Linked DNA regions of Homo sapiens: region 1 is linked to region 2. Evidence: promoter capture Hi-C in 16 types of primary human blood cells and fetal thymus (Javierre and others, 2016). All regions are on one chromosome and are shown on one strand. Each heading gives the region's core, a stretch centred on a gene start or on the middle of the fragment in contact. The rest is flanking DNA. Distances are from core to core; before and after follow the strand shown.

What was found. The method cuts DNA at HindIII sites, captures the fragments that hold promoters and counts their contacts. A CHiCAGO score of 5 or more calls a contact.
Region 1: a fragment that was not itself captured here is called in contact with the fragment with the promoter of FBXO47 in region 2 in 3 of 17 cell types (total CD8 T cells, naive CD8 T cells and naive CD4 T cells); the score reaches 6.5 in total CD8 T cells.

The regions. Positions count from the first base shown.
Region 1 is chr17:38,871,499-38,876,481 of GRCh38, reverse strand. The region is part of intron 1 of LASP1 (LIM and SH3 protein 1); the gene reads right to left. Among named protein-coding and RNA genes, the nearest start is that of LASP1, 3.9 kb to the right of the region's middle. RefSeq lists an enhancer at 4,561-4,983. The HindIII fragment of the contact is 631 bases long and covers 2,565-3,195 here.
Region 2 is chr17:38,965,517-38,971,081 of GRCh38, reverse strand. It overlaps FBXO47 (F-box protein 47), which reads left to right and starts at 3,679. Exons shown (of 11, transcript NM_001008777.3): 1 at 3,679-3,853. The HindIII fragment of the contact is 5,025 bases long and covers 1-4,289 here.

The sequences.
Region 1 (4,983 bases), core at 1,631-4,130, 94 kb after region 2:
GGCTGAGGCAGGAGAATCGCTTGAACCCAGGAGGCAGAGATTGCGGTGAGCTGAGATCATGCCACTGCACTCCAGCCTGGGGTATAGAGCGAGACTTAATCTCAAAAATAAATAAATAAATAAATAAATAAATAAATAGGCCGGGTATGGTGGCGCATGCCTGTAATTCCAGCTACTTGGGAGGCTGAGGCAAAAGAATCACTTAAACCCAGGAGGTGGAGGTTGCAGTGAGCCAAGATTGTGCCACTGCACTCCAGCCTGGGTGACAGAGCAAGACTCTGTCTCAAAAAAAAAAAAAAAAAAAAGAGAAACGATCTAACAGGCTCCACGTGGCAGCCTGGAGGGGTCTTTGTGGAACCCCTGAGAAGTATTGATGCTTAGGCAAACCCATGACAACAGGATCTAAATTCACCCCCAGAAGCCCAGGATGATGTGCTGGATCACCACCAAACAGGGGTCCACTGCCAGGACCCCAGAATAATCCAGGCCACCTGAGTGACCTGGCTGGCCTGTCCCTGCCCCATTTCCCAGTAGTCAAGGGAGACATTCCCCATTCCAAAAGAAGGAGGCCAGGAGGCAGGCCCAGGGGGACTTTTGAAGGAGCCCAGCCACAGAGCTGGTTCTTGGCCATTTGTCAAGGAATTCCCCCAAGGCGATGCTTTTCAAAATGTTGTCTCCAAACCCCCGGAGGGAGAGGTGCTTCTGAGACACTGGGAGGAGGGGATAGCAGAAAGAAGGCTGAGAATCTGGGATTCAACCTCCCTACCATGGCCCACTTCAACCAGAGACCCCCAGGGTAATTTCAGGGGGAAATCACCTTCTAATAGGGTACTGGTTCCCTATCAAGAAGACCCAAAGGAAAAACCTAATGGTGGAATATTAAACAGAATGCTAGGAGAACCACTCTTGGGGAGGACGGCCAGCCGGAAGTCTGGAAGCAAAGAAGTGGCGGGTCTAAGCTTGGCCCCCTCCCCAACCTGGGCCTATCCCAGTGACCCAGGGCCCCCAAACTCCTATGAGGCAACTTAAAGACTCCTTCTGGTGCATAACCCAATAGACAGAACCCACCGGGACACTAAGACAGACTGGTCCCTGCCCCCACAGGCCCCTGAAGTGGTGCATACCCCAACACACAGAACCCACCAGGGACACTAAGACAGGCTGGTCCCTGCCCCCACAGGCCCCTGAAGTGACAGCCCCACTCCCTCCCCGAGTAACTGGGAGGCATTGGCAGGGTGCCCCAGCCTGGTCACCACCCAGTCTGCTGGCCTCTGCCTACTTAGCTGCACAGGCCCCTGCCTAGGCCCCTGCCTGGGCCCCTGCCTCCCCCTACCCCCACAGGGGCCTGCCAGGAAAAACATTCTCCAGAATCCAGACCATGACCCACTTTCTCACACACACACACACACACACACACACACACACGAAGGGCTACACACTGTCCTAGGACCACGGACCTCCAAGGCTGCCTCCTGATTGACGTTGGGGAGACAAAGGGAGAGAGACCCCTACTCCAGATGGCCAGGCCTGCACCCGGAGCCAAGCCCCTTGGAGAAGGAGGGTGGGGTGTACTGAGCAGGCAGGGGGCACAGGGCCAACACTGGACCCAGTGGTTCCAAAGACCCCTCCAGGCTGCCACGCGGAGGAAGCAGAGCCCCTCTTCTAGGGGATGGCACCTATTTCTATCAGTAGCTCCTTCCCACCTCCCTCACAGGCCCCACACTCTCATCCAGACACCCAAGGGTGGGGCAGAGGAGGGTGGTCGCCTGTCCCCCTGCAGGGGGCTCTGAGCAGAAACATGGAAACCAGTTACTATGAAGCACAAGTGTCAAGTGGAGCTGCAGCCACTGTCTCCCAGAGTGCTGGAAGGTCAGGAGAGGAGGCCGTTCCACCCCTAATGCTTGGCACCTCCAGCAGCTTCAGGCGACTCCCCTACCCTCTCTGGAGGAAGGCCCCAAGGTTCAAGAAAACCCACCAGCTCCTTCCACTGTGTCCTTTTTGGGGTAGGAAAATTGTGGGGAGGGGAGGCAGAAAATGGCCAGTCCCTCCACAACCGCTGTGAGCCAAGCCTGGACCCTAAGATGAAAGAACTCCTGCCTTGTCTCAATGGGGTCTGGGGAAGGACACTGTCAGGGAAATATGTCCAGAGGACCCCACAGTGACCCCGTCTGCCTCTGCCCTGCCCCATGGGCTCTGTCCCAGAGCAAGAGCCCCCCTCTTTTAAAGGCCCCAGGCAAGATGATTTCAGCGAAGCATTCCTGGGCCTCAGGACTCAAGGAAACTGCACCTCGAGGCATGCACCTCTGCCCCTTCCTGCTGCCTGCAAAGTCCATGGCTTCCCTGTTCACAGAAACCAGACAGACCCTACCTCTGCTGCCTGTTAGAGGCCTCTCAGCCTGGATCCGAGGCTCCAAGGCAGGGTCATCTTGATCTTCCCTTGCCTACCTGCAACCCACTCTAAAGAAAGGTAAACAGGCTGGTAGGGGCAGAAGCCTGCAAGGATACCCCTCACTTGGGACAGCCTGTCCCTCTGTGGCTCTGGGTTGGGGGGGATGTGGCAAGCTTCGTGTCACTGTGCCTGCAGCCTGGCACCTTGGCCTCTGAACCCAGGCTACCTGGGGTGGCCATGACTCAGGGATGGATTATGAGACCATCTCTTCCCTTCCTGTTGCCCAGGGTTACAGTTTCTCCCTCCTGCAGAGGCAATGCCAGCCCCACCCTGGCCGGGGCACCAGCCTAGCTTGGTTGGCCACCTGACCCGCTGGCTTAAAGGCATAGATCTTTGCTGCACCTCCACAAATTCCGAGGAGGACAGGATTATTCCCAGTGGCCCCACGCCCCCATACAAGACCCCAGGCCCAGAGCATTCCTCCAGATAGGGTCAGGAAGGGATGGGACCTACTTTTGGCACAAATGAGATGTAAATAAAATATAAATATGTATAAATAAAAGTACTTTCTGCAAACACACTGGCAGAAGAGCTGAGCAGAAAGAACTGTGGATGTGAATTTCAGCTCTAAGAGAGGGAGATGAGCCACATGGGCTACCTGAGCCTCCATTTATGGAGTGCATCGTTTACAAGAGCGAATACACCTACTTTGTGAGGCTGCTGTGAAGACTGAGCCCAGCATATCGTGATAACTAGTAGCTATTATGAAGGGATGGTCACAAGATGATGGTGGGGTACTCTAAGCTTCAGCTAGCAAAACGGGGCACCACAGCTGTGAGGACTTCAACCCCCTCGAGTGGGGAGGGAGCGCTGAGACAAGCAGAGGCAGAGAGCCCACCCTAACAGGGGATTCCAGGGGAACTGGCAGCAGACCAATCCTCTACCTCCACCTGTTTTCAGAAACCTGGGGAAGCAAGCCAGGAAAGAGGGACGTGGCGAGGTTCTTGACAACACAGCTCCCTAGATACAAAGCAGGTGCACAAAGTAGGTGCTCAATAAATATTTGTTGAATGAGCAAATGAGGTCACCCTGTTTCTCCCCCAGCTCTAATCCCAGAAGTCCTCTGGAGAAGCAAATCTCGACCTCCTTCCTCAAACACTGTCATCAGCAATACATATTTATCCAGCTTGCAAAGCATGCTGGGTACTGCAGGTTGGGGGCAGGGTGGCCTTCAGAGGTGACAAGGTTTTTACCCACCTATGCCTTTGGGAGATAAGGCTCAGGGAGGAGAAAAGGCTGAAACCAAGGACACACCCTGTGCTTTGGGCCACGTAGTGGGCTGAGTACCATGGGGGATTGTAGAGAAACGGGTGAGTCTAATTTGACTCTTTTGCTGTAAATGGGAGGCCTTGGGAAGTTGGTTAGCAACTATGGGACTGAAGCTGCCTATGGGACTGAAGGTTTCCCCTCCTCCCTGGTCACAGCCCAGCATCCTCCAGGCACTGGCTCCCCATTCCTGGTCCTATCCTTACTGCCTGGAGCAGGTGGAGAGGAATAGGTCTGATACCTGGATATTTCAGGTCTCCTGCTCAGTACAGGGGGCGAGGTCTCTCCAGGGCCACTTCCTATAGGGAGAGTTCTAAAAAGAGGAAGGAATCACCAACTCCCACTTCCCTGGGCAACCCCCACTTGAACGTCCTCTTCCAGCTAGGGTAAGAGAACTGGGGAGGGCACCCTGCCCATCCCTGCTCCCCTCCCCTCGGGTACACGGCACTGAAGGTCTTTCCAAGGGGAGTGGTGTGGAGCTGAACAGAGCATCCCAGAGAGGTAGGGAGGGCATAGTCTATACAGCACCCTCTTTAGCACTCAGGGACTTTAGTGCACTGCCCCACCTTTAAGGAAATGACATCATCATACCCATCTGACAGATGGTGAATACTGAGGCCTAGAGACATTCATAAAACTGGTGGGAGCAGACCTGGAACAAGGACCCAGTTTCCCAACTCCTGGAGTGGCAATCCTGCCTTCATGTTTTGCTTTTTCCTTATACGGGTCAAGTGCCCACTGCCTCTTCCCAATTCATGACTGTGGAGAAGAAGGGGACCACAGGGAACTCAAGATGCAGAGGCCAAAATCTCTGCCACGAGGGGCGGGCGAAACCCCAGTGTGCAAGGACAGGTACATTCTCAAGGGGAGACTTCATTATCTGATAGCTCTAAGCTCAAGTCCTGCCCAACAGCGGCTGGCATGGTCATGGGGAGATCAACAACTTTCCTCGTGCCCACAATATACCCCCTCCTCTCCTCCTGCCCAGTCAAGCCCAGGACCAGGAGGAACAGTGACACAGCAGCGGCCCCATATGCCCACACTCCCCAAGAGCAAGTTCAAATATCTTTCAGAACCTCCAACCCCACCTCCTCACGCTGACTCAGAGGCCAAAGGTCACTGAGGAAGCTCACACACCAAGGGGGAGGGGAGAGATAAGGTGTCCAATAAACTATCCTCTCCTGAACAAAACCTGGCTCCAGGTCAGTAATGAACTTGGCCCCAGGGCTCTATACCCCTCTTTCATCTAGTGTTCCCACCCTTGCACC
Region 2 (5,565 bases), core at 2,430-4,929:
TTACATTTTATTCAAGTTGGGTGCTCTGAGCATGAGCCATTGAAAGGCCAAAATTGTATTTATCCTGAGCTACCACTAGGCCAGGCAGAAAATAGGCGTGGCTTGAACGTAACAAATGGATGAATGAATAGGTGAACAACAGATCATAGAGGACGCTGATGAAACAGCAGAGAGATTTGAGTTTCAGGTGGTTGGCAAGGCAAAGTTACTATGGGTTATTGAAATAGGAAATGACAAGGTGGACCTGCAGTGCTTGTACCTAAATTGGATTGCCAAATCCAGCAGACACCTGCAATGCTCATGTAACAGACACCTTGCTCAACTGGGTGGCACTTGTCACAGAGGGCTACTCCTCATTCTTGAAGCACCGATGCTTCAGGATTCTGTGACCCCAGACTCTCCTGGTTTTCTCCAGTTTACTTTGCTAGATACTCCTTTTCAATCTCCTTTGAGATCTTGCCCTCCTTTTCCCAATGTCTGAGTGTCAATATTCCTCTAATGCTTACAATTATATTCCTCTAATCCTTAAATGTATATCTCCAGCCCAGACATTTTCCTCCAAAAGCACTCTGATTTTTAAATTCAACTGCCTCCTTAACATGACATCTTCACTTGGATGCCTCAGAGAAATCTCAAATTTACCACTTGGAAAATTAATTATCCACTAGAATTCTCTTAATTCTCCACTAGTTGGCCAGGCGAGGTAGCTCACGCCTGTAATCTCAGCACTTCACTGAGGTGAGAGGATTGCTAGAGGCCAGGAGTTTGAGGTTATAGTAACCTGTGATTGCACCATTGTACTCCACCCTGGGCAACAGAGTGAGACCTTGTTCCGAAAAGAAAAACATAAGGCTGGGCACAGTGGCTCATGCCTGTCATCCTAGCACTTTGGGAGGCAGAGGTGGGCAGATCACCTGAGGTTGGGAGTTCGAGACCAGCCTGACCAACATGGAGAAACCCCGTCTCTACTAAAAATACAAAATTAGCCAGGCATGGTGGCACATGCCTGTAATCCCACCTACTGGAGAGGCTGAGGCAGGAGAATCGCTTGAACCTGGGAGGCAGAAGTTGCAGTGAGCCGAGATCGCACCATTGCACTCCAGCCTGGGCAACAAGAGTGAAACTCCGTCAAAAAAAAAAAAAAAAAAAGAAGAAAGAAAGAAAAGAAAAGACAAAACTCCACTAGAAAAACTCCTCACTTGCATATCTCAGTAAATGGGATTAACTTCTACCCATTTATTGAAGTCAGAAACCTGGGAATTATTCCTGTCTCCTTCCTTTCCCTTCCTTCCACCCATATCCAATCCATTAGGTAAATTCAGTTACTTCTACCACCAAAATATATCTCAAACCCATCCCTCAGAGCCACCATTCTAGTCCTGCAACATCCTAACAGATCTTACCCTCCACTCTTAGCCTCATTTATTCTCCACATAAAAGCCAGAGCAATCTTTTAATGATGTAAATCAGATCATAGCACTCTCTGCTTAAAACTCTTCAAGGACTTCCCATGACACTTCCCATGACACTTTGAGTAAAAGCTAAATTCTCACCACTAAGGATCCTTGTTTCCATTATGTGCGTCTGGCCCACTGCCAACGGGATGATACTTGGTCAAGGACCTCTAATCAATGTTGGAGACAGGGGGAAAAAAAAGAATTGTCTGCAGCTGGGCACGGTAGCGCAAGCCTGTAATCCCAGCACTTTGGCAGGCTGAGGTGGGTGGATCACCTGAGGTCAGGAGTTCAAGACCAGCCTGGCCAACATGGTGAAACCCCATCTCTACTAAAAAATACAAAAAAATTAGCTGGGCATGGTGGTGGGTGCCTGTAATCCCAGCTACCTGGGAGGCTGAGGCAGGAGAATCACTTGAATCTGGGAGGTGGAGGTTGCAGTGAGCCAAGATCACACCACTGCACTCCAGCCCGGGAAACAGAGGCAGACTTCATCTCAAAAAAAAAAAAAAAAAAAAAAGAATTGGCTGCAAAAGGATACAAAGCCAGGGCTGGGCCCGGTGGCTCACACCTTTAATCCCAACACTTTGGGAGGCAGGCAGATCGCTTGAGCCTCGGAGTTTAAGACCAGCCTGGGCAACATAGCGAAACCCCATCTCTGCTAAAAATACAATGGTGGTGCCCACCTGTGGTCCCAGCTACTGGGTGGCTGAAGCAAGATAATCAATTCAACCCAGGAGGCAGAGGCTGCAGTGAGCCGAGATCGTGCCACTGAACTCCAGCCTGGGCGACTGAGCAAGACTCTGTCTCAAAAAAAAAAAAAAAAAAAAAAAAGGCCAGGAGTGGTGGCTCACACCTGTAATCCCAGCACTTTGCAGTGCTGAGGTACGCAGGTCACCTGAGGTCAGGAAAAAAAAAGATACAAAGCCAAATGGATGAATATATGTGACTATATAAAATAACAGCATGCCAACTAATCCTAAATTTCCACTCAGTCTTTATGTAGTTCCTTATATATTTTGTGTTGGGTATAATGTAGAATTGATCTACAAAAGTAGAATCTTTCCCCCATTCCCTCTTCCCTCAGCCCTTCTCCTGACTGGCTCCTTCTCCTCCATCAGTTCTCAAATCGTCATATCAAAGGGACCTTGAGTATCAGTCTATCTAAAGTAGCTCTCCGCCAACACACACACACCCCATCATTCTGTCTTATTTCCTCTGTCACGCTGCTCTCACCGGAACTGCTCTCAACATCTGTAGATGCTCTGTCTGTTCATTCTATCTTCCCCATTAGGCTAATAAACTCCATTAAAGCAGGAAACGTATCTGTCTTGTTCTCTATTCCATCCTTAGGGCCTACTCCTGTGCCCGGCCCAGAGCAGGCTTCAATAAATAGTTACAGAATGAATGAAGAAATGAATGAATGAGAATTTAATCTTCTAGCCAGGAAGGCCTAGCTAGAAAGATTTGTCTTGATTTCATCTTGAGAGGATGGAGACACACATCTTCCTTTGATTCCAGACAGATTTATTATTTATGTGTTTATTTAGAGACCGGGAGCGGGGTTATGGCTGGGGGTGGGGGTCTCCCTATGTTGCCCAGGCTGGTCTCAAACTCCTGGACTCAAGGGAGCCTCCCGCCTCGGCCTCCCAAAGTGTTGGGATTACAGGCGTGAGCCACCGCACCGGCAAGACAAATTTAAAAAGGAATGTCTGGAGGTTTTTTTCCACCAAAAGGTTTGATGAAACCCCTTGTAACTTGCCCTACTGGAGTCAGTGGGGGTGGGAGGAACTCAAAAATTGTCTCAAAACTAGGTGAAGGGAAAGGCAGTGGAGCAGAGACGTGGCTCGCCACGTTCAGGATCTTGGGCTACACCCTCCCCTTCCCCACACCGTAACGGCTCCAGCCCCTTCTTGTCTTCAGCTTGGAGCGAAGGGTGGCTGAGGCCTGAGTTTGGGCTCCAGGAACCTCGCCCTTGTTAGTTATTCATGAGACGGAGGGCACCATGGGAGCTGGCTCTCTTGCTATTCATAAAGCGGGGAGGCGGGAGGCGGGGGGGAACCTCCTTCCCGCTAGGGCTTCTGGGAAGATCTACAATATTCATGAGGGAGGCGGGCACTACGAGAGCTGAGGCTGCTTGCTATTCATGAGGGGGCGGGCCTCCTTCCCGCGGGGGCTCTTGGGAAGATTCTACAATATTCTAGAGGCCGCGGGGACGCCTGGTGGGTAGGGCTGCAGCTCCGGAGCCTACGGGAGTGTGACCCTCTCGCCTCCTGGCGGGAAGCTCTTGAGGAGATATTTTCTTTTCTAAACACTAAGAAATTTGAGGATGGTGGGGCAAAACGACTAACTCCCACTTTCCTGTGACTCTGTAGCCGGAAAAACTGTCAAAATCTGTGGTAAAAGAGGGTTTTTTTTCCCAGTATTTTATTGCGATAATTTCATCTTTCATGGACTGAAGGGAGCGAAACATGTACCCCGTGTGGTCTGATTCTCCTGTTGACCAGTTTGTCCTTTAGGCTTCCCTAGTTTGCGGCTTTGGAGATGTTTGGGGGCAGCTGCCCGACAGATGGGGTGGGGCCCTTACAAGAGTTTTATGTTAAAACAGACATCCCTGTGAATGTAGTTTTTATCTTAAAGGTGTGGGGGGCGGGGAGGTTCATCCAATTGAACCCTCAAAACCTTTCACGCGCGGTCAAAATTAGTGGGATAGAACAGGGGGCATGAAACATCATTTTATTATTATTATTTGGGGCTGTGATTCTTATTCGCTAGAGGGGTGAGCGGAAACCAGAAATAATTTAGGATTATACCTTTAGAATTTTCACAAAAGCTTGCTTTTTCCCTACGAAACGTCCAGCTCTGAGTGAGGAAAATAAGGAACTATAAGTGGAGACTTGAGTTTTAGAAGAATTTGGGCTTATCATTTTTAAATTTTTGTTTATATTTATTTTAAACATGTATGTAGTTCACAGTTGACACAGTGAAGTCCCCGCCTGGTGACTGACAGTCTTTGAAGAGCCCACGGGCCCAAGCCCCACTGTCCACATTTCTCAGAGAAACAGGAAGAAGCCAAGGCCGGATTTATGCTATTGTAATAAAAATGCTTTAAAACACCTACTGTGTTGGCCGGGTGCGGTGGCTCACGCCTGTAAATCCCAGCACTTTGGGAGGCCGGGGCAGGCGGATCACGAGGTCAGGAAATCGAGACCAGGCTGGCTAACACGGTGAAACCCCGTCTCTACTAAAAATACAGAAATTAGCTGGGCGTGGGGGCGGGCACCTGTAATCCCAGCTACTAGGGAGGCTGAGGCAGGAGAATCGCTTGAACCCGGGAGGCGGAGCTTGCAGTGAGCCGAGATCGCGCCACTGCACTCCAGCCCAGGAGACTGTGCGAAACTCCATCGCAAACAAACAAACAAAACGCCTACTGTGAAAAGTTAAGGTTACAAACAGCCTTATGGATTAAACAAATTAAGATTATTTTACTTGGTGGAATGACACATAGCCATTAAAATATGATTACTTGTAGAAGGTTATTAGCATGGAAAGAGAATTCATTGAAAAAAGCAGATTACAAAGTATTATATATAGTGATCCCTCTTTTTTGTTAAAAAGAAATATATGTATGTAAAAGTCTGAAATTATATAAACCAAAGTGTTTATAAGTGAACTTAATTTTTTTCTTCTTGTTTAGCTGTATTGTGTAAAGTTGTTATTTGTGTAATTATTTTTTTTTTTTTTTGAGGCAGATTCTTGCTCTGTCACCCAGGCTGGAGTGCAGTGGTGTGATCTCGGCTCACTGCAACCTCCGCCTCCCGGGTTCAAGCGATTCTCCTGCCTCAGCCTCCAGAGTAGCTGGGACTACAGTCGCGTGCCACCATGCCCGGCTAATTTTTTTTTTTTTTTTTTTTTTTTAGTAGAGAAGGGGTTTCACCGTGTTAGCCAGGATGGTCTCGATCTCCTGACCTCGTGATCCACCGGCCTCAGCCTCCCAAAGTGCTGGGATTAAGGCGTGAGTCACCATGCCCGGCCTATTTGTGTAATTTTAATGATAATTTTAAAATACCTCCTAATTTAAGTGTTCACTGAATACTGACCCCAATCGCTG